7 separate regions of the Homo sapiens genome follow, and all the other regions are linked to region 1. Evidence: promoter capture Hi-C in human tissues and cell types (Jung and others, 2019). All regions are on one chromosome and are shown on one strand. Each heading gives the region's core, a stretch centred on a gene start or on the middle of the fragment in contact. The rest is flanking DNA. Distances are from core to core; before and after follow the strand shown. Region 1 holds the start of DNAJB12 (DnaJ heat shock protein family (Hsp40) member B12). Region 2 overlaps MCU (mitochondrial calcium uniporter). Region 3 overlaps MCU (mitochondrial calcium uniporter). Region 4 overlaps MCU (mitochondrial calcium uniporter). Region 5 overlaps MCU (mitochondrial calcium uniporter). Region 6 overlaps MCU (mitochondrial calcium uniporter). Region 7 overlaps MCU (mitochondrial calcium uniporter).

What was found. The method cuts DNA at HindIII sites, captures the fragments that hold promoters and counts their contacts. A contact is called where the count stands out against the background at its distance.
Region 2: a contact is called between a fragment that was not itself captured here and the fragment with the promoter of DNAJB12 in region 1, in 2 of the 25 tissues and cell types used here (H1 embryonic stem cells and spleen).
Region 3: a fragment that was not itself captured here is called in contact with the fragment with the promoter of DNAJB12 in region 1 in 2 of the 25 tissues and cell types used here (lymphoblastoid cells and mesenchymal stem cells).
Region 4: a fragment that was not itself captured here is called in contact with the fragment with the promoter of DNAJB12 in region 1 in 1 of the 25 tissues and cell types used here (dorsolateral prefrontal cortex).
Region 5: a contact is called between a fragment that was not itself captured here and the fragment with the promoter of DNAJB12 in region 1, in 1 of the 25 tissues and cell types used here (heart right ventricle).
Region 6: a fragment that was not itself captured here is called in contact with the fragment with the promoter of DNAJB12 in region 1 in 1 of the 25 tissues and cell types used here (dorsolateral prefrontal cortex).
Region 7: a contact is called between a fragment that was not itself captured here and the fragment with the promoter of DNAJB12 in region 1, in 2 of the 25 tissues and cell types used here (lymphoblastoid cells and stomach).

Annotation. Positions count from the first base shown.
Region 1 is chr10:72,353,030-72,357,455 of GRCh38, reverse strand. It overlaps DNAJB12 (DnaJ heat shock protein family (Hsp40) member B12), which reads left to right and starts at 2,537. Exons shown (of 9, transcript NM_017626.7): 1 at 2,537-2,691. The coding sequence starts at 2,559. RefSeq lists enhancers at 2,311-2,560, 2,951-3,080. The HindIII fragment of the contact is 25,714 bases long and covers 1-4,426 here.
Region 2 is chr10:72,855,264-72,859,689 of GRCh38, reverse strand. It overlaps MCU (mitochondrial calcium uniporter), which reads right to left. Exons shown (of 8, transcript NM_138357.3): 3 at 343-513. Among named protein-coding and RNA genes, the nearest start is that of OIT3, 36 kb to the left of the region's middle. The HindIII fragment of the contact is 7,322 bases long and covers 1-4,426 here.
Region 3 is chr10:72,809,392-72,813,817 of GRCh38, reverse strand. The region is part of intron 1 of MCU (mitochondrial calcium uniporter); the gene reads right to left. Among named protein-coding and RNA genes, the nearest start is that of OIT3, 82 kb to the left of the region's middle. The HindIII fragment of the contact is 7,136 bases long and covers 1-4,426 here.
Region 4 is chr10:72,782,427-72,786,852 of GRCh38, reverse strand. The region is part of intron 1 of MCU (mitochondrial calcium uniporter); the gene reads right to left. Among named protein-coding and RNA genes, the nearest start is that of MIR4676, 64 kb to the right of the region's middle. RefSeq lists a silencer at 3,188-3,482. The HindIII fragment of the contact is 4,735 bases long and covers 1-4,239 here.
Region 5 is chr10:72,754,886-72,759,311 of GRCh38, reverse strand. All of the region lies in intron 1 of MCU (mitochondrial calcium uniporter), which reads right to left. LOC124902450 (a long non-coding RNA gene) reads right to left here. Exons shown (of 2, transcript XR_007062189.1): 1 at 1-4,426. Among named protein-coding and RNA genes, the nearest start is that of MIR4676, 36 kb to the right of the region's middle. RefSeq lists an enhancer at 1,884-2,383. The HindIII fragment of the contact is 4,389 bases long and covers 92-4,426 here.
Region 6 is chr10:72,735,149-72,739,574 of GRCh38, reverse strand. All of the region lies in intron 1 of MCU (mitochondrial calcium uniporter), which reads right to left. Among named protein-coding and RNA genes, the nearest start is that of MIR4676, 16 kb to the right of the region's middle. The HindIII fragment of the contact is 4,157 bases long and covers 1-4,088 here.
Region 7 is chr10:72,708,971-72,713,396 of GRCh38, reverse strand. All of the region lies in intron 1 of MCU (mitochondrial calcium uniporter), which reads right to left. Among named protein-coding and RNA genes, the nearest start is that of MIR4676, 9.8 kb to the left of the region's middle. The HindIII fragment of the contact is 7,468 bases long and covers 1-4,426 here.

The sequences.
Region 1 (4,426 bases), core at 1,288-3,787:
GAGCACTCCTGTAGTCCCAGCTATTCAGGAGGCGGAGGTGGGAGGATTGCTTGAGCCCAGAAAGTTGAGGCTGCAGTGAGCCATAACTGTGCCACTGCACTCCAGTCTGGGTAACAGTGAGACCCTGTCTCAAAAAAATAAAATGAAATAGATAAAAGCAATTTTGTCAAAGTCAACACTGCCCTCTACACTGCCAAATCCATTGGTCATTTCTCAGGCCTCACATTGCTTGGCCTCTCCACAGGATATGACGTTTGACCCCCCCTCCCTCCTTTTCTAAAAAAACTGTTTGTAGAGACCGTGAGGGGGGGCGGTCTCATTATGTTGCCCAGGCTGGTCTTGAACTCCTGGGCTAAAGCGAGCCTCCCACCTCAGCCTCCCCAAGTGCTGGGATTACAGGCATGAGCCACCATACCTGACCTACTCATTTCCTTACAACCTGCTTCTTCACATTCTCCTTTACTGGATTTTCTTCCTCTTCCAGATCTTTAAATGTTGGGATTTCGTGAGGCTCAGTAATCAGACTTCTCTGCTCTTCTCCATCTACACTCACTTCCTTGGTGCATATATATATATATATATATATATATATATATATATATATATATATATATATATATATATATCACAGCTCACTGCAGCCTTGACCTCCCATGCTCAAGTGATCCTCCCACCTCAGCCTCCTGAGTAGCTGGGACTACAGGCGTGTACTACCACACCCAGCTAATTTTTTATTTTTTTGTAGTGATGGGATCTCACTCTGTTGCCCAGGCTGGTCTCAAACTCCTTGCCTCAAGTGATCCTCCCACCCCTGGCCTCCCAAAATGTTGGGATTATAGGAGTGAGCCACTGTGCCTGGCCCCAAAGTTATATTTCCAGGTCCTTTTTGCCTAAACCCTACGTATGTACAACATCCTAGTCTGTATCTCTGCTTGATTCTAAAAAGCATCATAAACTGAATCAAACCCTTAATATTCCCCCACCAAACTGCTTTTGTAGTCTTTTCCATTTCCTTGTTTTAGTAAATAGAAATTCTCTTCTTCCAGTTATCAAGCCAAAAACATTGGAATCATCCTTGAATCTTCTTTCTCTCACAGCCCACATCCATTGCGTCATTCTGTCTTCAAAATATATCCAGAATTTTACTACTACTCACCACCTCCGCCATCACCCTTATCCAAGTTACCATTAATTTTCACCTGTATTATAATAGTAGCTTCCTGACTCTCATCCGGATTACTGTAGTAGCATCTTACCAAATCCTGCCTGAAAGGCCAAGCAATGTAAGGGCTGACAGATGACTCGGGGATTCGGCAACGTGGAGGTCACTGGCAACCTTCACAAGATTGCTTTCACTGGAGTGATAGCCCTCGAAGAACGGGATAATGATAGAACTGGATTACACTCTGTAGTAGAATCTTTTTTTTTTCTTCTTTTTTTTTAGATGGCGTTTCACTCTTGTTGCCCAGGCTGGAGTGCAATGGTGTGATCTTGGCTCACCGCAACCTCCACCTCCCAGGTTCAAGCGATTCTCCCGCCTCAGCCTCCCGAGTAGGTGGGATTACAGGCCATGTGCCACCATGCCCGGCTAATTTTGTATTTTTAGTAGAGACGGGGTTTCTCCATGTTGGTCAGGCTGGTCTCGAACTCCTGACCTCAAGTGATCCGCCCGCCTCGGCCTCTCAAAGTGCTGGGATTACAGGCGTGAGCCACCGCGCCCAGCCTGTAGTAGAATCTTTACGCTCCCTAGAATGTATTCGCCTTCCTGATCTGTTATAACTCACCAAGAGAATTCCCTTTTCAGAGCCTTTGCACTTGCTGTTCCTTCGGCCTGACCACCCTTCCTCCAGACAGTCACATCTACCTGTTATCGTTCCTGAATTCTGGTACCTGTTAATGACAGCTTCTGAGAGGTTTCTTTTATCGCGCTATTTAAAATAGCGCCTCCCACTCTCTATCCCTGTGTTTTCCATAATTTTTCTTCAGAGCTTTTATCACTATCTGAATCTATCTGGAGCTCCCCCAGCCTACACACACTGGAATGTAAGCTCCATGAGAGCAGGAGCTTTGTTTTGCTCACCCCTGTATCCCCATCATAAAACCATGCCTCACAAACAGTGGGCACTCAATATCTGTTCAGTGAATAAATAACCTTTGTCTGAAACGTATGTAGTTACATTACGTATATAGATCACCACTTAGTAAACCGTCTGGGAATAACAGGCACTCCGAAGGCCCCAGTCTCATCCCGACGGCTACCACGTGACCTTCCTGAGCTTGGGTTTCCTCCTCCGGAAGATTAGAGGGTTGGCGCATACTCAACTCTAAGACCTCCGGAACATGGAATCTGGGCGTGCACCATTATTGACACCTACACCAGCCGTCCCTTTCTTAGAAGACATACGGTAGCACTTCCACCCTCGCTCAAAACTCGGGAAAGGAGGGGCGGAGGGTGGATGTCATCACTCCGCGCCCGGCTGCCCGCGACGCGCCGGCGGGTGGCGCAGCCCTTCGCTCGCCCGGCCTCCCCCTCCCTGGTTCCGCGTTCTGGTTCCGCCATGGAATCCAACAAGGATGAAGCTGAGCGCTGTATCAGCATCGCCCTCAAGGCCATCCAGAGCAACCAGCCCGACCGGGCGCTCCGCTTCCTGGAGAAGGCACAGCGGCTGTATCCGACGCCGCGAGTTCGCGGTGAGTGTGAGGTGCCGGAGAGACTGGGGACATTAGAACTGATGGGGGGAACACGGGAACGGACCGACGGGAGCAGTTGGGGGAGGGGGAGGGGTGGCGAGGCGCGGCTACGCCTGCGCACTGAGGCGCGCGGTGGCTGCTGGGAGGCGTAGTTTTTCCCTCTTGTTCCTCTGCGGGATGCGAGCCGTCTGGAGACTCGGGCGGCCGGGACTTCAGCTTTCGGGGTGCTGGCGGAGCCCGCTGGGGTTTGAGGTCTCCGAGAATGAAACGCGCTGGCAGCCGGGACGAAGGGAACTTACCTGGAAGTGAACTCGAACTACTTTTCCCAAGGGGCCGTTCGGTAGCCCAGGCCAGTCGCCGGCCTGGGAAATATTACAGTTCAGGAAAATAAACATAACTCCTTTAAGGGAGAGAATGGGCGCTAGACAGGGAGACATTTCTGTTCTTCGGGCGCCAGGGAAAGGCGCTTCCGTATCTTCACTCCCTCTCACCTCTCGGGCTGAGGGTCAGGGACCACTCTCCCAAAATGCAAGCCGGCCTTTGCACCCACCCCAGTCCGCCGCCTCGGACTGTCCTGAAGCCGGGCCCCTCACTCCTCCCGATGATGAGATTCGGAGCGGGTGGCCTGGTGGGAGGTGCTGACCTCAGCCACCGCCAGTCCTCCATCGCCCGCAAGAGTCCAGCGGCGGTCAGCCATGTGGACGCCGAGGCTGCTGAGTTGCCCTGGACAGGAGCCTCCTGAGCCAGGGAGGGAAGAGTGAAGCTGGCTTTACAACTCATCACCTCGCTTCACCCGGGAACCCTTTCTTTTTTCTTTAACCTAAGTTTTCCAAGGAGTTTTTCTTAATCCACGCTAGAGGGGAGAGAGACACCGGGTGGTGCTTGTGATCACCACTCAGTAAACCGTCTGGGAATAACAGGCACTCCGAAGGGCCCAGTCTCATCCTGACGGCTACCACGTGACCTTCCTGAGCTTGGGTTTCCTCCTCGGGAAGATTAGAGGGTTGGCGCAGATAATGTGATTGGCAATAATACCCATAGGGCTTTGCAGTTTAGGAAGCTCCTTCACCTGTGCCTTCTCACTTGAGCCTGCCAGTCAGGGATGCAGAGCAAAGATCATTATCTTTATTCTATGGGTGAGGAAAATCTCTGAGGTAAGGGATGCCCAGGATGACACAGCTAGAAAGTAAAATGTTCTGTGACTCTGTAAATGTTTATGAAGGAAAAGAAATGAAATTGAGGAACAGCAGTCAGCCTCCTAACCGGCCCTGCCCGCCTGATGAGATTGAGAAAGCGGAACGCTGGTGGAAGAGGTAGCCTGGACTGCTGAACTTTCCTCCCTCCGGACTCTTGCAGGTTGATCTTTGGCCTGTTTGCCTCCCCTTGGAGAGGGTTTCGGGCTGTATTTGCCAGGACACCTGAGGTAACCTGCTCGAGGAGCCTCCCTGTGAATTAATTCATATTCTGTGGTGGGGTGGTATCCTCCAGCTGTCAGAATTCTGCCTGACACTGATGCTGCTGCGGGCTCAGGAGCAGGCAGCCAAGAAAGGATGGGCCACAGGGCCTCTGGGGATCTTTCTGTCAGCAGGCCCCTGCACCAGTTCAGGAGCTTGAAGGAGTGTCCTCTCTGGGGCTCAGGCTCTGGAATTTGCTGAGACAGAAGAACCACCTGCATGCATATTTGTCATATTTGTGCTTTTCTGGAAAGACTATGAGACTATACGCCTTATGCATC
Region 2 (4,426 bases), core at 1,274-3,773, 500 kb before region 1:
CTACTGGAAGTATTTATTCTACACCGAAAGTAATGATAAAAAGTCTCAATAATATAAAATGTGATTGATTGTTCATCCTTGCTCATGGCATTATATGTGAGCTGCTTTTGAATGAGATTCCCTGTGCATACACATTTGCTAAAACCGATCAATTATACTCTGAGTACCACTGGGAGAGAAATCCCTTTCTCTCCTGGTAAGTGCTAAGCAAAAGAAAAAAGTTTTCTGAAGTTAACAGTATAGGGTTCTTTTGTAGCTACGTGTGTGGTGTATGTATGTGTCTAGAAATGGTGTGGGGTGAAATGAGGGATAGATGGTAATTAATAATGATGGTGACTATACCTGGTGAATAGATAGCAACTCTGTCAATTCCCCGATCCTCTTCTTGCAGTTGTCGTAAAAATACACCAACAGAGTCAGAGATAGGCTTGAGTGTGAACTGACAGCGTTCACGCCGGGATGGTAGCCTCACAGATATCACAGGTAACCCATTTTGATAAACCACTGTAACATCTGAATGAAAAAGACCCACAAACATATGATAATTGGATTTCAATGTAAGTTAAAGTCACATTATTACCATTCTTGCATGGGGGTCTATTATTAGTGTGATTTAAAATGTTTTCAAAGAAGGTTTAAGAACATGCCCTTTAGCTTTAGTTGAAGGTTATTCTGGGAACTGGCTTATAAAAGATCAAATGGATCACATAGCTCATTTTACAGATATGAAAAAACAGGCAAGGAACTGTCTTCTGAGTGGGTCAAGGAGAGGCTTTCCCAAGGATATCAGGTGAAGTTCTTGATATTGGTGAATACAAGCCCTGGTTCCATTTAGCAAGATTTTATTAAGCAGTCAGAGATTGCTGGGCTAGACTTCATAGCCTGTAGGACGTGGCTCTCGGGATCCAGAGCTTTCAAGAAGTACACTAATAAGTGAGACTCTTACTCCAAAACAGTCAATTCATGTATATATAGTACAGTATTATATCCAAGCTGATAAGTGAGAAACAAAAGTGAAATCCTAAGCCCCTCAACTGACTGAATGGACCCCCTCTTGGCCAAGGGGACCCCAGGGTAAACCTTTAAAGCTAAGTTCTCAGCCATGACAGGATGGGAGGTCAGACACAATTCATTATACCCCTTCCTTGCTAGCCACCATTAGGCATTCTTTCCTAAGGGCTTAAGAGAAACTAGCCCTTTCAGAAGACTCCACCACTGATATCAACCAATTAACTGACCAACACTGCCCCTTTTTTTTGCCTGACAAGAGGCCACCGACCGTGGAGTGGTTCTGGCCAGTCTACAGAGAATGCGCAGTGAGGGTTTTCACACCCTCTGCTTCATCTTTTGATGCCAGAGAGCTGAAAACTCCACCCTCAGATCATGCTGACGCAGCCATTTTTTGTACACGGGACCCATGAAGGGGCATGAAGATCAGTTGTGCATACACACATTTCTCCTTTCATAAATATGCATGGCCTCTCCTATAGCGTACTGAGTATGTATATTTGGCCACCCTGCTCAGCATGCATCCTGTTCTTTTTGCCTCTTCCTCAAAGTGTCTGTTTTTGGCTTCTGAATGGAGGCTACACTTCCCAGCCTGTCAGAATGGCCACCCTGCAGCCTGCAACCTTTATGAGAAATATAGGTCTCCTTTCCAAATTTATGAACCTCGCCATTCTTCAGTTGTCATAAGTTAGCATTCTATCAAAAACAATTCATGTTCTCTTGAATGTCTTCATGAGCTTGGCTAGACAGAACCAAAACTCAGATGTTTAAGATTTTATAACAAAATGTTATGAAGGGAAAATTTATTATGAACTATTAAATTGAAGGGATCTTCTACAAAAGTATAGCATAGAATGCCTATTTCCTTATTTTCTCCCTCAGTATTCTTGATTTGTAGGGTCCCAGTAGAACAACTATCAAAATAGCCCTCTTTTGGAATAATTTTCACATACATTTTTTTAAAAATGCATTTTTAAAATAAAAAATTTTTACATAAGCAACTGAGCATTTAAAGATGATGTTAGCACTGAGGAAAGAAAACAGGCTTTGGAGTCAAATATGGGACTGAACCTTGGCTCTGTAATTTTGGGTGTATTATATAACTTCTCTGAGCCTCACTTTTTTCGTATATAAAATGGGCTTTGGCCAGGCATGGTGGCTCATGCCTGTAATCCCAGCACTTTGGGAGGCCGAGGTGGGCAGATCATGAGGTCAAGAGATTGAGACCATCTTGGCCAATGTGGTAAAACCCTGTCTCTACTAAAAATAAAAAAATTAGCTGGGCATGGTGGTGCACGCTTGTAGTCCCAGCTACTCGGGAGGCTGAGGCAGGAGAATCACTTCAACCCAGGAGGTGGAGGCTGCAGTGAGCCAAGATCGCGACACTGCACTCCAGCCTGGCAACAGAGTGAGAATCTGTCTGAAAAAAAAAGGGGGGGGTTTAATCCCTAACTCACAGAGCTGTTGTGAGAAATGAGTGAAATACATAAATAATTTAAAACACTTAGCATATTACATGATACATAAATGATAATGTTTCCTTACTAGCTTCTTTGAAGAATCAAAAGTTGACCAGATGTGGCGACATGTGTCTGTAGTCTCAGCTACTCAGGAGGCTGAGGCAGAAGGATTGCTTGAGCCCAGGAGTTTGAATCTACAGTGAGCTATGATTGTGCCACTGCACTCCAGCCTGAGCAACCGAGTGGGACCCCATGTCTAAAACCTTTTTTTTTTTTTTTTTTTTTGAGACATCTTGCTCTATCACCCAGGAGTGCAGCGGCATGATCACAGCTCACTGCAGACTCGAGCTCCCAAGCTCAAGCGATTCTTTTGCCTCAGGCTCCCAAGTTGCTGGGAACTACAGGCGTGCACCACCATGCCAGGCTATTTTTTTTTTTTTTTTTTTTTTTTTTAGAGACAGGGTTTCACCACGTTGCCCAGGCTGGTCTTGAACTCCTGAGCTTGAGCAGCGACCCACCTTGGCCACCCAAAGTGCTGGGACTAAAGCCATGAGCCACTATGCCTGGCTTCTAAAAACAATTTTTAAAAATAAAGTAAGAGTCAAAAATTACATTCTATTATGCTTCTAAGGATTTATATCCCTACTAATCAAAGAGTTTATAGCAAACATATGTTAAGATTAATGTTTTGGAAATCCAAAATGCATCAAGCTTTCCATAGTTGTAGTTGTAGACATTTACATCTTATTTCCTTGTCTATTCTAGTAATTCATAAGGCCTACATTATATACAAAATCTTCACACTAAAATCTTTCATGATTTGAATTTTCAAGAAATAAACCTAATTGAGACATAGTTTATAAATAACAAAATACATTCTTACTTAAAATGGAAATCTGATGAGTTTTTACATAAGAATCAAAATAAAGAACATTTCTATGATTCCCCCAAATTCTCTGATCCCCATCCCAGTTAATCCCTGGGTAACCATTGATCTGATTTTGTCACCACAGATTATATTAGGTTTTTATAGATTTTTATATAAATAAAATCACGCTATGGACCCTTTTATATCTGGCTTCTTTCTCTTGGCATGATTATGAGATTCACCTATGTTGTTATTAGTAGTTCATTAATTAACTAGTTCATTAGTAGTCATTCATTTGTATTGCTGAGAAGGGTGTCAATGCATAGACACACCACAACTTGTTTATCCAGTTGACGAACATCTGGGTTGTTTCCAGGTTTTGGCTACTATGAATAAAGCTTTTATGATTATTTGCATACAAGCCTTTGTGTGACATGTTTTCATAGTATATCTTTCCCTATCCTTTTACCTTATCCATGTTTTATTTAAAGTGAGTTTCCTGTAGAAAGCTTATAGTTGGGTCTTGCTATTTTATCCAATCTAACAATCTCTGCCTTTTAATTAAAGTATGTATATTATTTGCATTTAATGTAATTTAAGTATGGCTGAATATAAGTCTTACCATCTTACTACTTATTTTCTTTTTGACCCTACTGTTCTTTCTTCTACTTTTCCTCTATTCTTGCCATTTTTAGATTTACTATCTTTTAATCTCTTTAAAAAGGATTTTTTCATTTAATCACTATTTATTATAATTTAATCTCTTTTTTTAGAGACAGGGTCCTAATCTGTCTCCCAGCCTGGAGTACAGTGGTGTGATCACAGCTCACTGCAGCCTTGATCTCCTGGGCTCAAGTGATCCTCCTACCTCAGCTTCCTGAGTGGCTAGGACTATAGGCATATGTAACTGTGCCTGGATAATTTTTTTTTTTGGTGGGGGTAGAGACAGGGTCTCACTATGTTGCCCAGGCTGACCTTGAACTCCTGGACTCAAGCTATTCTCACACCTCAGCATCCCAAAGTGCTGGAATTACAGTATTGAGCCACAATGCTCAGGCTAATCTCTGCTATTGACTTATTAAATATACCT
Region 3 (4,426 bases), core at 1,157-3,656, 460 kb before region 1:
AAAAAAAAAAATCACAAAAATATGCTATCCATAGTGCAGACATCAAGAGAGATGGTATTTGCTGGGCGCAGGGGCTCACGCCTGTAATCCCAGCAATTTGGGAGGCTGAGGCGGGCAGATCACTTGAGGCCAGGAGTTCGAGACCAGCCTGGCCAACATAGTGAAACCCTGTCTCTACTAAAACTACAAAAATTAGCCAGGTGTGGTGGTGCATGCCTGTGATCCCAGCTACTCAGGAGGCTGAGGCAGGAGAATCGCTTGATCCCAGGAGGCGGAAGTTGCAGTGAGACAAGATTGTGCCACTGCACTCCAGCTTGGGCAACAGAGCAAGACTCCATCTCAAAAAAAAAAAAAAAAAAAAAAAAAAGAGAGAGCTGGTATTTAAATTAACAGATCCTCTTACACTTCTTTCCCAAGTTTTACCTGATTTTTCATTACCTTCTATAATTAAAGGGTTAGGTTTCTGCAGTCTTCAGAGTCGTTTACAGCTCTGGACGTTACATCACATTGTTGGTTGATGCCTTTGCTCATAAAAAGACACTGACTCTAAATGTTAATTTCCAAGTTGGCTGGTCAGCTGTTGCTCACTAGCAGTCCACAGCTAGCTATATATCATTTGAATTTATGTTCCAATGGGTTCTACCTGCCTTGCCAAAAGCTCTCATTTCAGCTTCCTATGGGGAATCTGTTTGAACGAACTCTTGCCATGAGTCATCCTCACAGCATATATAAAAAATCCAGAATGTTGGGCTAGGACACTGGGCTAGGAACTAGACTGTATTCTAAATGCTGGCAGCAAGGAACCCTCATGTTATTTAATGTTTAGTACAGCTTAGAAAAGACAGTGATGAAAGTGATCCAGGAATCAGAGGTGACAGTTAAAGCACATCTTGAAGCACTAAGCCACAGAGATGATTAACTTGTCAAGCTGCATATTTTTGAATTTACTCAGGGCTGGATACTCCTCTCCACCAACCTCCCACAGGACACTAAAAACCGGACAACATAAAGCCAAAGCATTTGATAAAACATTACATAAAGCAGTAATGGTTTGAAGAAAGCTTACTTCCTCTTTACATTGCTTTGCAACAATTTGCTTCTGTAAGGATAGAAAGTTATGTCAGAAAACAGCCCTTTATGTCAGAAAACAGCCCTTCATGATACTATTTTAAAGCATATCTCAATAATGAATACTAAAGATTACTCACTAGAGACCATCCCTGAGGTTCCTTTGTCCTTTTGCATCATGTCTTCAACCACTAAATCTCTGCATAGAATTCTGTTCTCTCTGGTCACTTTTCTTCCTTTTGTACTCTTTTGCTCTGCCCACTGTCTCCACCTCATATCAATAATGAAGTATAAGAAATCTGGAGTATGGGCGCAGTGGCTCATGCCTGTAATCCCAGCACTTTGGGAAGCCGAGGCGGGCGGATCACCTGAGCTCAGGAGTTCGAGACCAGCCTGGCCAACATGGTGAAACCCCGCCTCTACTAAAAATACAAAAATTAGTTGGGCATGGTGGCAGATGTCTGCAATCCCAGCTACTCGGGAGGCTGAGACAGGAGAATTGCTTGAATCGGGCAGTGGAGGCTGCAGTGAGCCGAGATCACACCACTGCACTCTAGCCTGGGCAGTAGGGCAAGATTCCCTCTCAAAAAGAAAAAAAACAAAAAGAAAAGAAACCTTGAAATTACAAATTAAAAGCATTTTACTCTCCATGTTAAAAAAAAAAAGCACTATAAACATCCAAAATGAATAGGTAAATAATATTATTTCCTAAAATACATTCAATATAGGAAACTGTTTTCAAGTGTATCTAGTACATAAATGACAAGGAACACAGGGTTGGCTGAATAAAATTTATTTTTTAACTAAACAAGAAGGAAGATACAGGGAAATGTTTCTGAATATATCTGTAATAAAGGAAAAGACAGCATTCAGAATTCTATGTATATGAAAATAATACTGAAAAAGCCAGTATGGTCTTTTGGTAAAATTCTTTTCAAAACATGTTATCTTGAGAAATTATCTTTTATCTTCAAAGATAAGTTAGTTAACATGAAATTTATTTTGCAAAAATTCAAAACATTATCATTACTTAGTCTCTTAATACAGAGATAGAAGAAAATCATTAAATGATAAGCTCAAAGACAACTTACACATTTTAATTAAGTGGGCCTTTTCAATCAAACTAAACTGAGTGAAAGATTCCTTTCCTCTTGCTCTGGAACTCTAATGTCATTGAAAGAAAAGCAAAGAGAGATTGAGTAGCTGCTTAGTTAAGAAAAGAAAATCCAATTGTAAGAATAATCTGAAGGGACCCCACAGGTCTTACAAAACAAGTCTTATTATTCAGATTAGTAGAGGACCAAGTCTATTGGTTATATTGGCCCTCTTCTCATTGAACAACTACAACAGACACAAAAAAATGTTTGTCATAAAAATGTCAACTCACTTCAACAAAAAACACACATGAACACATTAACAAGTTCGCAACAAATTCTATTTTGGCTCATTGCGTCTAGAATGCAACTATCCTTTAACATCAATAACCTTTTTCTCAAACAACAGCCACCACAACCGAACTGAAAAGGCAATCTAGACTTAAATCTTATCAACTATTTTATAGCCTATCTTTCCTACATTATAAATTACGCATTTTCGCCTTGAGAAATTGGCAGTAAAAGATTCATGTTTATTTTGGTTCAAAGGGTGACCCCAGTTGGTAAACTAATAAAGTATACACTGAATAGCTATTTCTAAAAGCATGTGCTGAGCAGGTTGGAGGTTTCTTACTGGATATAACCAATAGAAGTTACCAAGTCTTTTCAATATTCTCCAGGCCTATTGTCCTTTCTCTACTATCTCCATACTCAGTATAAGCCTTATTTTAACTATGTTCTCTGGCATTTTGGTTTCCTTGACCTCCTAGACCTACTGTGCCAATCCTTACTTTCTGGTAAATTTATTTCATCAACTCCTGCTGTGGGATAAAGCAAGGCCTATGAGAAAAAGGCAACACAGACCAGGCGCAGTGGCTCACACCTGTAATCCCAGCACTTTGGGAGGCTGAGGCAGGTAGATCACCTGAGGTCAGGAGTTCAAGACCAGCCTGGCCAACATAGTGAAACCCTGTCTCTACTAAAAATACAAAACAACAACAACAACAACAACAACAACAACCTAGCTGGGCGTGGTGGCAGGCGCCTGTAATCCCAGCTACTTGGGAGGCTGAGGCAGGAGAATCACTTCAACCCGGGAGGCAGAGGTTGCAGTGAGCCGAGATTGCACCACTGAACTCCAGCCTGGGCAACAAGAGCGAAACTCCGTCAAAAAAAAAAAAAAAAAAAAAAAAAGGCAACATAATTGTCTTAACTGATGTCACTACAAAATCATGTTACTCACTAAATGCTTTCACATATGTCAGTGGACTCTCAGACTTCTTCCCTACAGAAGTTGTTCAGAACTGTTTCCTGCCTCTCAGTCAAAGACGTCACCTCTTATTTTACTGAAACCAGTAAAATAGGAAATTTCTGAAATTCACCCTCACAATTCCTCTCTTCTCCAACACCAAGTTTCTCTCAATTTTCTTTTTTTCTCTTCTTTCACTCTAACACAGGGAAAGAAGTCTCCCCACTCCTTTGCAAGGTGAATACCTTTACTTCTTCAGTTAGTTCTTCTCTCTTGCATCTTTAATGTCTCCAACTTCAATAGCTCCTTTCTCCAACCTTAGACATGTCTAGTTCTACACTATGTCCACCCCCATACACATATGTTCACGCGCACACACATACAAACACACACACACATGCACACACAGAAGCCTGCCTTCACTAATCCTACTTCCCACTGATATTTTCTCATTTCTCATACTATTATGCCTTCTTGGAAACATTTGATACTGCTGACTACCTCCTCCCTCCTGAAATTCTTTTCTTTGAATTCTATGACACTCTAGGAGTTCCTGAATTTACTTCTTACTCTACTGTCTTTGACCACTTCTATGTCTCCTTTATTGCCTTCTTGCTCTTCCAGCTATCCCCAAAATACTCATCAAGGCTTATTCTTTGCCCTTGTTTTTTCATACTTATTCTGTTTGGAGAGCTCAACCTTTCTTAGAACTTCAAGTTATTATCTCAATGAAAATAATGTCTTGAGTCCTTTCTGTACTGATTTTCAGATTCAAATTTCTAGCTGCTTATTAGAATAGCTCTATCAAATATACCTCTAAGTCCCTGAAGTAAAATATGTTCCCAAACCTGCTCCACTCCAATGTTTCCGATTTCAATTAATTGTACGTCAAACTTTTTGGTCAGTCTCTCAGGCTTTAAGACCCATAGCCATTTTAGAGTCTTCACTTTGTACTCCCAGCCAATTCCAAGTCTCATCAAGTCTACCATCACCCTTTTTGCTTCTTTTTGTTCCT
Region 4 (4,426 bases), core at 623-3,122, 430 kb before region 1:
TGATGGCATGTTTCCAGGAGGATTAAATTTAGTGAGAAAACTGAAAAAGCAGTGCTTTTGTGCTTCAAAATACTTTATTTATTTATTTTTACTTATTTATTTATTTTGAGACATTGTCTCGCTCTGTTGCCCAGGTTGGAGTGAAGTGGCACAATCTCGGCTCATTGCAACCTCCACCTGCTGGGTTCAAGCGATTCTCCTGCCTCAATCTCCCGAGTAGCTGGGATTACAGGCGCCTGCCACCACGCCCTGCTAATTTTTGTATTTTTGGTAGAGACGGGGTTTCGCCATGTTGACCAGTCTGGTCTCGAACTCCTGACCTCCACGTGATCTGCCCGCCTCAGCCTCCCAAAGTGCTGGGGTTATAGGAAAGAGCCATGGCACCCAGCCATGCTTCAAAATAATTTAATCCCAACAAATCTGTAAATTAGTAACTTACATTCCAGTTCTTCCAATGAGAAAACTGAGGCACACAGAGCACACAGAGCTAAGAATGAGCACAGCCAGGATCTGAAATCAAATATATCTGATTCTCAACCCATCTCTTTTTACTATGTGACTCATTTTTAGGTAACAAAAACAGTAACTTCTCACTCTATGTTGATGTGTTCAAGTATAACACAAGAAACAGGATAAGGACATTAAAAAAACAAACTAGCCAGAATTCCACAAACAGCTAGCCAGAACTACATTAACTAAACTGGATGACATCTCTGGACATCAATCTCACATATAATGAAATGATCTCCACAGCAAATCGTTCCTTTATGTATTATCCTATTCTTGAAATTTTATTGCACAGCATAATACCGTTTTTTCACACAGTGCTTGTTCAGTCCCTATTCTACGGACAATCTTCATCTCCTCAAATTGGTAAGCAACACCTTGTAGGCAAGGATATGTTATTCTTTAGAATCTCTAAAGCGTGCAATACATTCCCATAGTATATATTCAGTAAACACCTATTAAGAGTTGCTGGGCAATACTCCTTTGATTTCTATAAAAATCTCCTTTCCAAAAGGATTTTCTTCATCCATTTCTACTACGACATTGACAATTGACACTAAATTAAAACAAGTAGCTATACGTACATAATAATGTTTTTCTTGCAAATTAAACCAAGATGAAAATTGCAGCCCTTGTAAGGGTCTTACTACAGATACAAGTTACAGATGAAGTGAGCCTTTATTTCCATGAAATGAGCCAGCAGGAGAATTTTACATAAACACTAAAAGTGAAAAACTTGCAATTCTGGACTATGAGCCAACACACAAAAGAAGCTCATTTCAATCTGTCAGATAAATGCCTACTCAACAAGCATGACTTCCTGGAATATATTTGGCTATTTTATATTCTGTTTCCTTAATCTGCCACTAACTGTGACAATCTCAGAATGTTTTTGAACTTTAGGATATATTTCTATTATGCACATTTTTGAAAACTCTAAAATGTGTTTTAAAGATGCATGTCTGACTAGTTTCTGCATACCACAGGGAAGTTCATTAACCTAAGTGGTAGGGGGCAGCAGGAGGGGAGACAGGGAGACAACAGAAGCAGGGAAAGAGAAAGGAGAAACAAAGTTGTAGCTTTGGTAAACACCACCACTAACCTTGTTGCAGAGACACCAAGGTTATTAGAAAAGTGACGGCAGTAGCACTGCCAGGTTTGGCTGGAGCAGCCACCACTACCACTTGCTTCGCCGACTGTGTAATATATGTGGAAATGTGGGAGATTCTCGTGCTACATCATGAAACTGCATCTGTATGCTAAATATCTAGAGACAGGAAGAGCCCTGGAAAAGGAAAAGAAGAGCAATCCCTGTACTATGTAGAAGCCTAAAATCCTTGACAACGCAAGATTCTCCTTGAACAGCTCTATCAAGCAAGTAAAAGACACACACACCAGGAATTGGTTGACTGGTGCTTTAAAATCATTATCCATGTGTGTTTTGCTCCTCACTCCAACAAGGGCATTATATAGAGCTGAGAACACATCAGCATTTAGGAATTTCCCAAAATACTCTTGGTAGGAGGGATTCCCCACACCCAAGCCCATGAAAAGGCAAAGCTGCTCTGCAACTTACTTCAGCCAGAGAGGCAGGGTGCACAGCCAGCCCTCACTCACACACCCACGCACACATACGGACAGGCTTTCCCTAGCATCCTGCACTGAAAATGAGGAGACTGTTCCCTTGACTCCCTGCACAGTGCCACATTAACATTTTCAGAAGCTACTGGATACACAGAAGGCTTTTCCTGACAAACAAGGACATCCAGAGATCTAATCCCTGCTGACAACTGCTTTGTGGAACTTTCTGTCCTTTTCAGACATGCCTACTTAAATCTATTCTTTAACCTCTCCTGCAACCAAATGTAGCCAATTAAAAATTGTACTTACCTTCAACAAAATGGGAAAATTACTCACAGCTACAAGGTGGCTTGATTTTAAGTAAATGAATCACATTTATATTAGCTTTAAAAATCACAATTACTATTTGCATAAGACACATCCTTCTAAGAGATCTATCAAAACAGAGCAACATTTTCCAAACGTGACAGTATTAATTTGATAGGATCTGAAAAAACAAAGCCTTTGTACTTCCCTTTTAGTGAAATTCAAAGTAATCTCTCTGAATTACATACTCTTTATATTGTTCTCAAGAGGGAGCAGAAGAAAATCTTCTTTTGGAAAATGTCATCCCCTGAGAGATCCAGGTAAGTGGGCATTCATCTTTGCAGTACAACATGAGGGGTTAAGCAAGGAGCTACACCATCCAACGGTGCCCGGCTTTCCCCCGGCTTCACTTGGATCAAGCAGCAGGGTTAATTACGTGGAACAGCCAAAAAGGTAAAGTAACTGGGTATTGACTTTTGGGGGCTGGTAATTTCTATAGTGCCTATGGCTCTAGACTTCCTAATAAGCTTTTCCTTAATCTGCTTTTGAAACTAAAGAGTCAAGAACAAAGTAAAACAATTTTTTAAAAAGAAATAAAGAAAGAAACAAGCAACATCCTCCCCACTCCCCAACATTTGGAGCTAATCATGGGGAAAATCCTTCCTATAGGCATTTGATTTTAGGTACTTGTCACATTTTCTTTCCCAACTCCACTCCACCCCACTCTATGCGTTTTTCTTGGCATGATCTCTCTCCCTTCCTTTGAGAAAATAAACTGCATTTGCTCTATATTAACACTTCAGATACAACAGCTCCCCCCAACAAAATCCTCTCTTTATCCTGGAAGGTTTAACTTGACATGTTTTTTTCCTCAGAAGAAACCAGGCTAGAAATCCCAACACTGCTCCACTAAGTAAACTCTCCTAGGAAGAGAGGATTCACATGGCATATGCAAAGCCTCCTAGATGCCAAAGAGTTGAATAAGTGGCACATGGCATATGCAAAGCCTCCTAGATGCCAAAGAGTTGAATAAGTGGCATGTGGCAGTTCCACACCTGAGTCCAAAACACATCCCTTCAAAGAGCCACCAGTGTGATGTCCTCAATAATATTCTAAAATGAATAGCATCACACTGTTTTGGACATGAAGGTGATGGTTCTGAAAGGATAGGAAGGAATGTAAAACATAATCTATTTTAAAGTATCTGGAGGCTCTACATATAATGTAACTAGGTGGTATGCCTATGCCAGATGATAAAATCTAATTTGAAAAGTCTACACATTGACATTCTCTACCAAGGTGGAGCACACACAATGCGGTGGTTTCATTCAAACTATTCAATGAAGTACTTAGGGTGAATATTGATTATGCTTAAAGTGCATTCCACAAATACTTCAAACAAACTGAGTTATTTCCTTTTTCCATGGCCAGAAACTCCCTTCGCATTTTCCTATAGGAAGCTTAAATATAAGCTCTCATATTTAAGCCTCAACTGATTCTGCAAATTGCTCAGGTTTGCCTTAGGTTCAGTGAAAGACATAACCAGTCACAAATATTTCTAAACTCCTTCTGCAGGATGTTGGCTCACAGTAACACAGCTGCACTAGAATCAAAATAACTTCTGAAGCTACTGGCTTTGCTGGACAAGATACGAATAATACATAAGCCCTATATGCAAGAAACTAGTGAGAGGAACTAGACACACATCCCTGTAAAGTTAAATAAGCAAACAAAAGTTAAAATGAGTTCCACAGAAGAGGCAGAAATTCAGTTTGATTTTTAAGGATTATGGGCCGGGCGTGGTAGCTCATGCCTGTAATCCCAACACTTTGGGAGGCCAAGGCGGGTAGCCTGAGGTCAGGAGTTTGAGACTAGATTGGCCAACATGGCGAAACCCCGCCTCTACTGAAAATACAAAAATTAGCTGGGTATGGTGGCAGGTGCCTGTAATCCCAGCTACTCAGGAGGCTGGAGGCATGAGAATCGCTTGAACCCAGGAGGCAGAGGTTGCAGTGAGCCGAGACTGCGCCAC
Region 5 (4,426 bases), core at 1,037-3,536, 400 kb before region 1:
ACCAGTGCATGCAGCCCCCAGTCATGTACCCCCTGCTTGCTCAATCAATCACGACCCTCTCACACGCACCCCCTTAGAGTTGTGAGCCCTTAAAAGGGACAGGAATTGCTCACTCGGGGGCTAGGCTCTCGAGACAGGAGTCTTGCCGATAACCCTGGCCGAATAAACCCCTTCCCTCTTTAAGTTGGTGTTTGAGGAGTTTTGTCTGCGGCTCGTCCTGCTACAGATGAACAGAAGTACTATTACCCTACATGCAGACTTGCGGAACAGACATAAAGAGGTTCAGCAACAAACCTTAATAATACAACTAAACAGGTACAGAGCTACAAACAGAACTAGAGCCTTTTTATCTTGAAGCTCATTCCATTAAATAATACTGCATTTTTCAAACCTTATTCTAAGTGTATTATCATTGTCTTATTCCACACTACTTATTAATTCTGTCTTAAAATTGTGTTTCCAATAGAAAATTTAAGTAATATTACGGAAAAGAGAGATTTTTTAAAAGCCTCAAACACTAAATTTCTCAAAGTCAAGAAAATAGATTAAACAGCCATGAAAACCATGGTTTAATTACCTTTATGATTCTGTGATTTCTGCTTTTAGGGAAAGCCAAAAAAATTGGCCCATTCAGCAAAAGCATTGGTTTATTTCTTGACCAATACTCATCAATTAATCTAATCCACCCACAAGCAGCCTGAAGTAAATTAATTCTAGTAACTGAAAGTTGCATATTCATACTTTCAGAAAAAAGAAATAGACTGCCTTAGTAACTATTTCCCTTTCTCTGGGTGGCAGTTTCTCTGAGGTTTCATACATACACCATCAATTCTCTGAGATTTTACACACCGTCTCTCTGTGTACCAATACACAACTGTATCTGTGGACATGATATAGCACAGAGGGCTGTAAAGGAAGCCAGAATATGTCACCCCAAAATATTCCTCTTTGACATAAATATTTTAAACCGAAGAAGCAGGTGCAATGGCATGTGGCTGTAGTACCAGCTACTCGGGAGACTGAGATGAGAGATCACTCGAGCTCAGGTGTTTGAGGCCAACCTGGACAACATAGTTTTAGACTCTCTTAACCAAATCTGTGAAGAGGGAGTTGAGAAAAATTAATGAATAAAGGAAGAGCTCTTTCTATCCTCCTCTCCTGCTTTTCTACCTAAAGATATAAATTCTCCTTTACTGGAGACAACTTATCAACTCAGATATGGCACCAGAGGGATCACAAATCTTACTCCACTAGTTTACTGCCACATATTTACTTTTCCTTCCCATAGTTCCCCACCTTTAGAAGTGTTAACCTGCTTTTCTTTGTCTTGTCACTTCTGGAAAATTCATTGCTCTTTGTTGAAGATGCTACATAGGCAAGTGTTCTAAGCCACTGCTTTGAATTACTTCTCACTGAGGTTTCTCCTGCATCATGTGCACTGCACACGTGAATATACACCTGCTTGTTTTTCGCTTGTTAATCTGTCATTTGTCACAAAGGTCTGTCCCCAACTATGAACTTATGAGGGTTAAGGAAAAATTATATTTCTTCTCTGACAATTGCTTCAAAGAACATTCTCATGGGGGAGGGGGACAGAATTATTTAGTTGGGGAAAAACACTGGCTTATATTATCAAATAACTCTTCAAATTATCTCTTCAGACCACTTCAGCTAGCTAGGCATAAATTCTTTCCCTCTTTAGAGATTAAAAAAAAATTATTATGAACTAGGTGATGTTACTCCAATTTTTATGGCCTTTTAAAAAACTACTTTTATATTTTAGCACTGACACACAGGCTCGCACCTCTTAGAAAAAGTAAAAAGCTTCCATTCAAAAACTAGCAATTTTTACAGAGCTTTCTGTATGTTCTTTGGGTGGGGGTTGGGGAAGTAGGAGGAAGAAGGAGATGAAGCACACTGTACTTGTCCCAAATTATATTTTCCTTTTTCATGTTTTTCCCTGAAACAATATTGTTTGTACTCCTTATACAATAATGTCACATCTCCCTTGTTTCTTCAGCTGGAGGAGGTGGTGGTGGTGATTCCCGTTGCTAATCTCTACATTACCTCACCATCTCCTATTTGGCTCTCAGCTCTTTCACTATCTGCATTATAATTTTCCCTCATTGAATTCCTTCTGTTGTAAATGCCTGAAATGGTTTCTGTTTTCCTTGTGAGACCCTGACTGATAAAACCACTCACTTGACAATGTGCCATTTACTGCTTTTTGAAATGTTAAGTAGCTTTTTCATACACTTATGTACTTTCGTATGGTTCTTTTCTTTTTTTTTTTTTTCCTTTTTCAAGATGGAGGTCTCATTACGTTATCCAGGCTGGACCCATACTCCTGAGTTCGAATAATCCTCCTGCCTCAGCCTCCCAAGTACCTGGGACTACAGGTGTATGCCACTGAGCCCAGCTTCACATGGTTCTTTTACAAATAAAAAGCAAAAGCTTGAGTTGATGAACTCTGAGATCAAAACTCTTAACTTTCCAGTGCTAAAGATGGCAGCAGGGGGCAGGGATTGTGAGGAGGGGAGCTGGACACGGGGGGCGGGGCATAAAACGTCAACAGAGAATGTCAGGGAACAAAATAGATGGCAAACACTAACTTAAGGTAATATGCTAGCTATGCCAAAGTAAGGTCAAATCAAGGAGTCTCCTCAGATTGAGCTCTTCTTTGAATATGGCAAAACTACTACTAAAAACAAATCAGAAGGTGTACTGACCATGAATACAGCAAGCAATGATTATGCTATCACAGCCTCCAAGAGCAATGAACTTGCATTCACCCAGTGAATTATGCAGTTTCTCCTGAGAGGCCCCCCAAATTGGCTAATGACTCAAAAGAAAATTTTTATGTATAAGTAATTGTTAGTGGCTATAACCTAGAGCAATCTACTGAAAAATGTAGTTCTTAAATGCTAACAATCCAAACATAGATTGATAACACAACATGGTACAAATAGTATTGTTTCCAAAAAAGAAAGAGAATACCATACGGCCATGTAAACCTCTTTTAAAAACTGATTTTGGCCGGGCTCACACCTGTAATACAGTACTTTTGGAGGCTGAGGCAGGAAGATTGCTTGAGCTCACGAGTTCAAGACCAGCCTGGGCAACACAGCAAAACCCTGTATCTAATAAAAACACAAAAAATTAGCCAGGTGTGGTGGTTCACACCTGTAATCCCAGCACTTTGGAAGCTGAGGTGGGTGGATCCACTTGAGACCAGGAGTTCGAGACCCACTTGGGCAACAAAGCGAGACCTTGTCTCTACAAAACATGTAAAAGAAAACAATTAGCTGGGTATGGTGGTGCACACCGGTAGTCCCAGCTACTCAGGAGGCGGAGGTGGGAGGACTGCTTGACCCTGGGAGATTGAGGCTGCAGTGAGCTATGATCATATCACTGCACTCTAAGCCTGGGTAACAGAGAGAGAGACTCTGTCTCAATGAAAAAAAAAAAAAAATGGTTTCAATTGGGCTAATATCCCTAAAGCAAGTACTCTGGCACAACCTTTGAAAACTCTTATCTGGCAAAAACAACAACAACAACAAGGGTTGAAGAGATGCCATATTTAGATGATCATTTATCTATTTATGCTTCCGCCGTTCAAATTGCTTTGAATTACAGGCTACAAGTGCAAACTCATAGTGATCTAATATTAATAACAATAACAACAGTTAGCACTTAAATAGTACTTAATGTATTTACTATATTTATGCGCAAGGCACTATTCTAAATGCTTCATGTATTTAACTCATATAGTACTCACAACTCATTGGATAGGTATAATTGTTCCCCACTCTACCATCAACATTACACACCAGGCTTAAAGACATAAAGTAAATTGCCCAAGCTGGCCAGGTGGGGTGGCTCATGCCTGTAATCCCAGCACTTTGGGAGGCCAAGGCGGGTGGGTCACCTGAGGTCAGGACTTCAAGACCATCCTGATCCACATGCTGAAACCCCGTCTCTACTAAAAATACAAAACTAGCTGGGCATGGTGGTGCATGCCTGTAATCCCAGCTCCTTGGGTGGCTGAGGCAGGAGAATTGCTTGAACCCGGGAGGCAGAGGTTGCAGTGACTGAGATCATACCATTGCACTCTAGCCCAGGCAACAAGAGCAAATCTCTGCCTCAAAAAAAAAAAAAAAAAAAATCTCAGGTTCACATATCTAGTAAGAAATAGCTAGAATTTGACCCCAGGTAGTCTGAGACTACAGTCCATGCTTTTAACCACTATACTTATTATATTCCCTTCCTAACTTGATCAAGGTCACACAGCTAACTAGGTAGTGATACCAGGAATTCAATACAAATCTTGAGCCACATAAAAACACAGTTTGTTATGAAATATGTGAGGTTATAACTCTGTAGAAGTGCTAAGAAATCTTTAACATCATCTGCAAAAAATGTCTGC
Region 6 (4,426 bases), core at 761-3,260, 380 kb before region 1:
TTGGCTTTCTTTAAAACGAAAAATGTTTCTCTGTTTCATAAACAAAAAAGGCCTGAAAGACTACTCCCAGGAAGACCATTAAAATGCTGAATTCACCTAGAACTAAAGTTAACATTTTAAAGCTGGAATTCAAAGGAAAAAAAGCACATATATAGTCTGACTTTTATAGCTTTTCCAATTCCCAATACAGGATTTTTAAAATCCTATTTGATGCAATACAATTTAACGAGATTCCAGTTGTGCTAAAAATAATTCCAAATGTTATTTTTAAAGTGCACTGAAAGGAACGGTCTATCTCAAATTCAAATATATGAACTTCACAGTAATGTAAACTGGTCATTCCAGCCTTTTCTTTTTTGAAGATTAGTCACTAGTAGTCAAAAAAAATGTTAAGGCACATTACACCTAGACTCTCTCAATTCATAGTTTCTACTTCAATAACTTAATTATAATTTATTATACATCTATAATATATAGCACATCACTGTGGCATGACATTTAAACCATACTGTTCACACTGTATAAGTGCACATAGTTATGTGTCTTCCCATACATAACCAAATATGTTTTTGGCTCTAGTTGAATATAATAATGAGAAGAGTGTCCTAATAATAGTAAAAACAAAAGAGTTGAAGCCTTAAAAAAAACCGAGCATTTTGACCAGTAGAAAAGGAACAGGAGGATATCCCACACAAAAAGATGTGAACAAAGTCAGAGAACCATAAGGCACATCTCAGGAATCTAGCACAGCAAAAGGCTCCGTTGTAAAAAGGAAAGGAGAAAAAAATAGCCTGGAAGGCTAGACTGAGTTCAACCATCAAGGGCTTTCAATACCAAAGTTCACAGATTTCAAGCTTCATTGTCCAGGCAACAGGCAACACAGGATTTTAAGCAGAGGAGTGACCATTATAAACTGGGTGCCAAATATAGCATTTCCACAGATAAGAAACTGTAAGTTTTACATAACATTTCCTTTGGCTTTGTTATTTATAAACCTTAACTATTAAAATACGGGCTGAGATGTCAACATCACAGCTATCAGCACTCAACATTTCTTTTCTCAAGACAATTAAAAATCCACATTTCCTTGTTTAGCATAAACTTTCTAGAAAGGCTCTTTGTTTTTCTGCCCCATTTTATCTAAAACAAATAGCACAAATCAGAGGAAAAGAGTCTTTTCTAACATTTGTTCAATCTAAAAGCTAAATCCAGCATGTAGGATATACTTACTTTATTGCTATACCATGATTGGCTCTCTTCTTCACTCCAGGAGGCTATTTTTGATTTGTTGGACATATAAGTAAGGAAGAAAGAGTGGGAGCAATTTCTCAGAGCCCCCAGGATACTTATTAAGTTTACTCCAACTTCCCCTTCACCTTCCCCAAATAAATTCTTCTTAATTACTATAATTATTAGTTTTGTTATATTTACAGAATTTGAAAGCTTTTTCCAGTGGTTTTTACTTAGACTGTAACTCTGTTCCCAGTGTCCAGTCTAGGTTTTCTCATTCGTTTAAAATATTTATCCAGCTACATTAACTCCCAAAAGCCTGTAAGTCCTAAAGACTACTAAAGCAGCAATTGTACCTGAAGATAACCGCAACAATACCACTGCTCATCCCTGCTCCCATGCCAACTTAAAAGCAGAAAGAATACGGAGTTCCTAGGAATATAAGAAACAGCTTGTTGCCCTGGTGCCTATACAGCTCACTCTTGAACTTCAAGTCAAAGGTAAGAAACAGAAAAAGGGGAAATAGGCTGGGCATGGTGGCTCATACCTGAAATCCCAGCACTTTGGGAGTTGGGGCGGTGAGGATCACTTAAGGCCAGGAGTTCAAGACCAGCCTGACCGACATGGTGAAACCCCATCTCTACTAAAAACACAAAAACTAGCCAGGCATAGTGGTGCGCACCTGCAGTCCCAGCTACTTGGGAGGCTGAGGCACAAGAATCACTTGAACCCAGGAGGTGGAAGTTGCAGTGAGCTGAGATCGCACCATGTCAATCCAACCCAGGCAATAGAGCAAGATACCATCTCTGAAAAAAAAAAAAAAGGAAAGAAAAAGGGGAAATAACGCGCCAACTTTCCTTCTAAGGAATTCATACATGGCTGCTTCCCTTACCCCCTCTCTTTACATTTCAAATTATCGACCCAATACAACTAGACTATATGCTCTTTAAAGTCTGGGGCCCAGGCCTAGCAATGGGCATTTTACACAGAAGGTACAGAATAATAATTTTTTGAAACAAGTATTTCTTGAATTGAGGTTTCTGCTCATCTATTATTACCACTTTTATTCCTATAATGTTAAAGTTTCTGCTATTAACATTAGTGACTTCTGTTCTTTCTTCCTGACCTCAAAGACACTACCATATCCAAGAATGAAAACTCATGACTGGAGAATTTGAACTACACAACTACTATGGTATCAACAACCGCTATAGTATCAAACTGAAGTTTAGAGAAAGCAAGTTAAGAGTCATATTCAAGAAAAATGTCTGTGGCCATTTAGAGTTTAAACCACAATTCATATACCCCACACGCTTCACTAACAAGACTAGAAAGCTTTTGGGAACACTGTAGTGAAGTATCAACAGTCTTACATAAACTTTTTTTAAACATTGAAAGCGACCAGCCTGTGAAAGCTCTTTTAGCAAATGCTAACACATTTTTCCTAGCACTACCATCTCAAACACCAAACAGCTTTATGTTGACAGCACGCAACAATGTCCAAGATTGTCCACCATTTAGACTGCTAAATGCCTGGCCTAAAAAATCATCAAAAGGGCACTATTGAGCTAAGGCAAAGGAAGCATATTAATAAATCTCTTTACTGACAAAATGTTACAGATTTGTTAAGTACATGAGAGAACTACAGCATTTAAATAATCAAAATCCTAAGCAAACATTTACTAAGATAATAATGGCAGGAGGAGGTGTGGCTCAGTTTCTGTTTACGATCTATTTACTAAAGCAGCTTAGCAACATTTATCCTAAACATACCCAGGATGCAAGTGTTGGTCATAATCCTTCTTTCCTAATAAGCATAAAGGGCCAACCCTTGGTCTCTGGGGGATATAACAGAACCATCTGGGGAAAAACAAAAGATGTCTGGGTTAGAAGGAAATATTTTCCTAAGAATGCAACAATTTTTTCCACTCTCACTTCCTTTTAGGACTAAACCTTTAGACAGGGGTACTAGGCAGCAGCAGTCAGGGCCTTACTGTCTAGTTATCTGATAATCCAAACCTTGGAGATGAAGGTAAATCTGAGCATGCAGAATGATCTGTAACAGCCCAGCTAACTTTCACTGTCACCAGCCAGATCAACTACAGAAAAGAATAAAGGCTAATGAAGCAAATCAGTCTTCCAATGGCAAAAAAAAATCCATATATCCAACGTCCATGAATACACAAATCTGTCAATAGAGGGTTTTAAACACTTAAATTGTTTATAGTAATTTACTAAGTTACTTTTGAAAAATTGTAAAGTATTAATTTGTGTTGATTTGCAAAACGAGAATATTTTTTGCATCAATGTCACTAGCCAAGAAACAAGTGTTTACAACTGTTTTAATAGAGCAATATATACTCATTGTAGAAACTAAAATTAAATACAGAAGTACATAACATGGGAAATGACAGTCTCCTATCCCATCCCCTAGAGACAACCACTATTAACACTTTAAACCCCAGTATTCTGCAATGTTCTATGATTACCAAATATTAATATCAAGGTTGAAGATCCACAAAGATATTCTATATAATTAGGCACCTTCTCCACTCCTGTACCCAACTAGTGAAACTAAAATAGTCTACAATGTCCCTGCCAAGTGTTCATCCAGCTTCTGCTTGAACAAATCTTGTGACATAGATCTGATTACCTCCCAAGGCAGTCCACTCTACCTTACAACAGCTTTATTCTAATACTGAGTGGCTAGTTACCTTCCCATTAGATCATTCTGGTTTCTCTCTTGAATATGCCTTTGTTTTTAAATGTTTACCATTAAAATAAGGTACCTAGACATGAACACAATACTTTGGGACAATCATAGTCCTCATTCTGGACACCATGCTTCTATTAATAGAGCCCAGATAATACTGTGGACTCATGATGAACATGCTGTCAAGTGAAACCCTCCAGGTATTTTTCATATTACCTGCTATTAAACCACATCACATCCATCTACAATAACACTAACTTTTTAGATCATATATGGGATTTTGCACTTATCAATGTTTAATACGTTTTAATCAATTCAGTCAATTCTTTCAGTCTGATAACTATTTTCAATCTCTAGTCTGAAAAAAAACCCAACACACTTTAACAATACAACTTATTTTCATTGCCAGTTCCAGGTCATATATGGGTTTGCAAAGCAAGTCATTAATATTCCATCCATGTCATTAATAAAAATGCTGAACAC
Region 7 (4,426 bases), core at 919-3,418, 360 kb before region 1:
GAGGCAGGAGAATCACTTGAACCTGGGAGGTGGAGGTTGCAGTGAGCCGAGATTGCGCCACTGCATTCCAGCCTAGAGAACAAGAGTGAGACTTCGTCTCAAAAACAAAACAAAACAAAAAAAACTCTCCCATTACTGGAGGTTCATTCCTGAGGCACTGGAATCTATCAAATAAAAAAGGCAAAAGTATTTTTTCATTCTAATTAAGTTTTAGCCAAAAGACTATTATACCACCCCTAATTAAAATATGCTTAAAATTGGTCACCATTTGTAACAATCTTCAAATTGTACAGATCTCAAATAATTTAATGAGAATGGAAGATTCACTGTTAATAGCATATCTGGCCAGACTTATATCTTGGGTGCCTAACTAACATTTTAATTTTGGCTTGTGTTTGCTTGCCGTAGCGACAGTCCCTGGAAACCATCCAATTTATTAGTGTTTCCCTTGCTGCCTCAGCATTTCTGGTTAATGCACTACAGCAAATCATTTGGAGGGACAACCTGAATGAAGCTCTGCCCTGTGTACTCTGCAAAAATGTTCAAACCATTATCAAGAGTGTTGGAAATGAAAGACAACAGCATGAAATTGAGAAGATAAAATTTTATCAGAGATTGTCTTTTTAAAACAATGACTTCAAAGTAAGAATATACATTGACTAATATGTACAGAATTATTATTAAAACAAATATTTATTTCACACCAACTACCTGTCTCAAAAAGTATGTCCCCTCATTTCTAGACCTTACTTTTCTTTTGCTTGCCCCATAAAACCACGACACAATTCAAGAACAGCCTTTTTACCATAAAAGGCGCATCTCCTTTTACAAAATAAAGCAGATAGTACCCAAATTGCAGATAATTCCAAACACACAGAAAAGAAACAATGAATTAATGCCAACAAATTTCCACCCACAGCTTGTCTGCACTTGAAATATCTGAGAATTTTAGTAACCCAGGCTTTTGTTGCAGCAGCTCAATCCCCCACGAGCTCACTGTTTTGTGGCAGATGCTGCTCTGTATCTTGTACAAGACATGTTCATCTATGTAATAAAACATTCTTCTTCTCTGCCTTCTCTCAGGAAGTACAAAGGATTTTCCCAGGAATATGATAAACGAGGACATTCCACACCAAAAAAGGAAAACTGGTTTTGAAAGTCAAAACAGCATTCCTAGTCTAACTTTAAAAATGACATAATAAATTCCTTTTTCCTGTCCCCCAGAATATTCAGCAAAAAGTCTGTCAGTTAACAGAGGTTTAAATATATGAAATAGAGACAGAAACGCCAAAGTAGTTAAAAATGAATGAACCAGAACCACATGTATCAACTAAATAAGTTTTTTTTTGTTTTTTGGGTTTTTTTTTTTAAGAAACACAGTCTTGGGCAGGGTGCGGTGGCTCATGCCTGTAATCCCAACACTTTGGGGGGCCAAGGCAGGCGGATCACGAGGTCAGGAGATCGAGACCATCCTGGCTAACACGGTGAAACCCTGTCTCTACTAAAAAATACAGAAAATTAGCTGGGAGTGGTGGTGGGCGCCTGTAGTCCCAGCTACTCGGGAGGCAGAGGCAGGAGAATGACGTGAACCCGGGAGATGGAGCTTACAGTGAATGGAGATTGTGCCACTGCACTCCAGCCTGGGGGACAGAGTGAGACTCTGTCTCAAAAAAAAAAAAAAAAAAAAAGAAACACAGTCTTGCTCTATCCCCAGGCTGGAGTGCAATGGCCCAATTATAGCTCAGTGTAACCTCAAACTACTGGCCTCAAGCAATCCTCCCACCTCAGCCTCCCAAAGTGCTGGTATTATAAGTATGAGCCACTGTGCTGGCCTAATTTTTTTTTTTTTAAGTATTAAGAGGGAAAAAAAAAAAAAGGCCAGGCGTAGTGGCTCATGCCTGTAATCACAGCACTTTGGAAGGCCGAGGCAGGCAGATCACTTGAGGTCAGGAGTTCAAGACTAGCCTGGCCAACATGGCAAAACCTCATGTCTACTGAAAATACAAAAATTAGTTGGGTGTGGTGGCACACGCCTATGGTCCCAGCTACTCAGGAGGCTGAGGCAGGAGAATCACTTGAACCCAGGAAGTGGAGATCGCAGCGAGCCGAGATCGCACCACTGCACTCCAGCCTGGTTGACAAAGGGAGACTCCATTCCAAAAAAAAAAAAAAAAAGATTTGCAGAAGGATACATACAGTGTAATACTTTTTTTTTTTTTGAGACAGAGTTTCGCTCTTGTTGCCAGGTAGAGTGCAATGGCATGATCTCGGCTCACTGCAACCTCTGCCTCCCAGGTTCAAGCAATTATCCTGCCTCAGCCTCCCAAGTAGCTGGGATTACAGGCGCCCACCACCATGCCCAGCTAATTTTTGTATTTTTAGTAGAGACAGGGGTTTCATGATGTTGGCCAGGCTGGTCTTGAACTCCTGATCTCAGGTGATCTACCTGCCTTGGCCTCCCAAAGCGCTGGGATTACAGGCATGAGCCACTGCGCCCGGCCAGTTTAATACCTTTTAAATAAGGTTTTAAAACATTCTTACAAAACTATATAAGATAGGTGTAGATAAAGGATAAACACACTCATGGGATGGTAAACATCAAATTTAAGAGAATGTTACTTTTGGGAGAGAGGTCTAAGGAATGGTACTTGGGGGCAGCAATTATAATCATAATGTTCAATTTCTCAAGCTAAAGGTTGTATATTATATTATTCTACTTTTTATAGACATGACATACTTCACAATTTAAAAATAAAAGATTTTTGTCCTTGTATGTCTGATTGAACATAATGTAATTTCCTTATAAAGGACCACTCCACCTCCACCAAAAAAAAAAAAAAAAAAAAAAAAAAACCTTAGGTGATGGAATGGCCTTTCCAAGTGAGCTCCTTTGACAGCATTCCCATCAGTAGTTTACCTTCTGCCTTTTCTTCCACTAGTGCTATGACTGTCTAATGCTGGCTGTGATGTGACCTTCGGATCCATAACTCAGGGTCTCAGATTGTCTCTACTTTTCATCTTACAAAGAACACCCATTTTAGGCAAGAAATCTATTATAGTTTCCTTTCATTTTCTACTTTCTCATGTTAAAAGCTCTAGAATCATTAAAAAGAAAGCCATTAACCAGGCGCTATAGCTCACACCTGTAATCTCAGCACTTTGGGAGGCTGAGGGGGGCAGATCACGAGGTCAGGAGATCAAGACCATCCTGGCCAACATGGTGAAACCCCATCTCTACTAAAAAGTACAAAAAATTAGCCGGGCATGGTGGCATGTGCCTGTAGTCCCAGCTACTCAGGAGGCTGAGGCAGGAGAATTGCTTGAACCAGGGAGGCAGAGGTTGCAGTGACCTGAGATCGCACCACTGCACTCCAGCCTGGGCGACAGATCGAGACTTCATCTCAAAAACAAAACAAAACAGAAAGCCATTATGTATTTAAAGTTCACCCAACTTTGTGGCAGTTGGCCACACTAAGAACTTGAATTCATTCTGAATCGAACACCAATGCAGGATGAGACATTAAACTTAAAGAAAGCACTGACTGGAGTTCAGCTGTCCATTAAGTAAATGAATATTCCAAAATTCTGTAATATGTTACACTAAAATCCTGTTTTACTATCTCAACTGTGCTTAGGCAGCATTTTAACGTTTAAGTCACAGCTGAAAATAAAAAGAAAACAAGATTTCATTTTCTTTGGGGTTAAAACAAGAAAATAAATAAACAAAACCAAACTATTGACATCTATATCTATATCTAGTCAGATACTCACACAAAGTATACCCTAGGGGTCCCCTCAAAAAAGAAAAAAAAACACCAGAAAATCCATTTTTCCTGTCTATTCAGCAGTGTCTAGCACCAGCATTCACAGATCAGGAAAAAGGGAGAAAGAGAGAGAAACTAACAGATCAAGAAAGACATAACCTGGTATTCTTCTGTTTCCAAAAAATGTAATTCCATCAAAAGCAAATGAAAAACCTTCAATCTTCTCATTAGATTTTTACTATTTGTTCCATTCTACTCAATCTATCTTTAAATACTTCTTTAAAGTATTCTGACATCTGTATTGTTTTAAAATGAAAAATAGGTTTTTATCACACTTGGCCACTTGCCACAGCCCTGCTTCACGGCAGCTATCAGAATTCTGGCAGTGCAAAATACAGGATACAGTGGGGACAGAATGGAAATACACAAGACTAGTTCCAAAATAAACACTTCCAAAAATCTGCCTTCTTTGGAAATATATATATACAGAAAGAATCTACAGTTGGCAGCACCTCTTTGAAATAGTTCCTTTCTCTCTTCTGCAGTGTCCAGCATGGCCCATACCCCCACCAATCATGCCAGGTAGATGCCACTGTATCAATTTCTTAAATTTTTTTTTTTTAGAGATAGGGTATTTCACTCTGTCACCCAGGCTGGAGTAC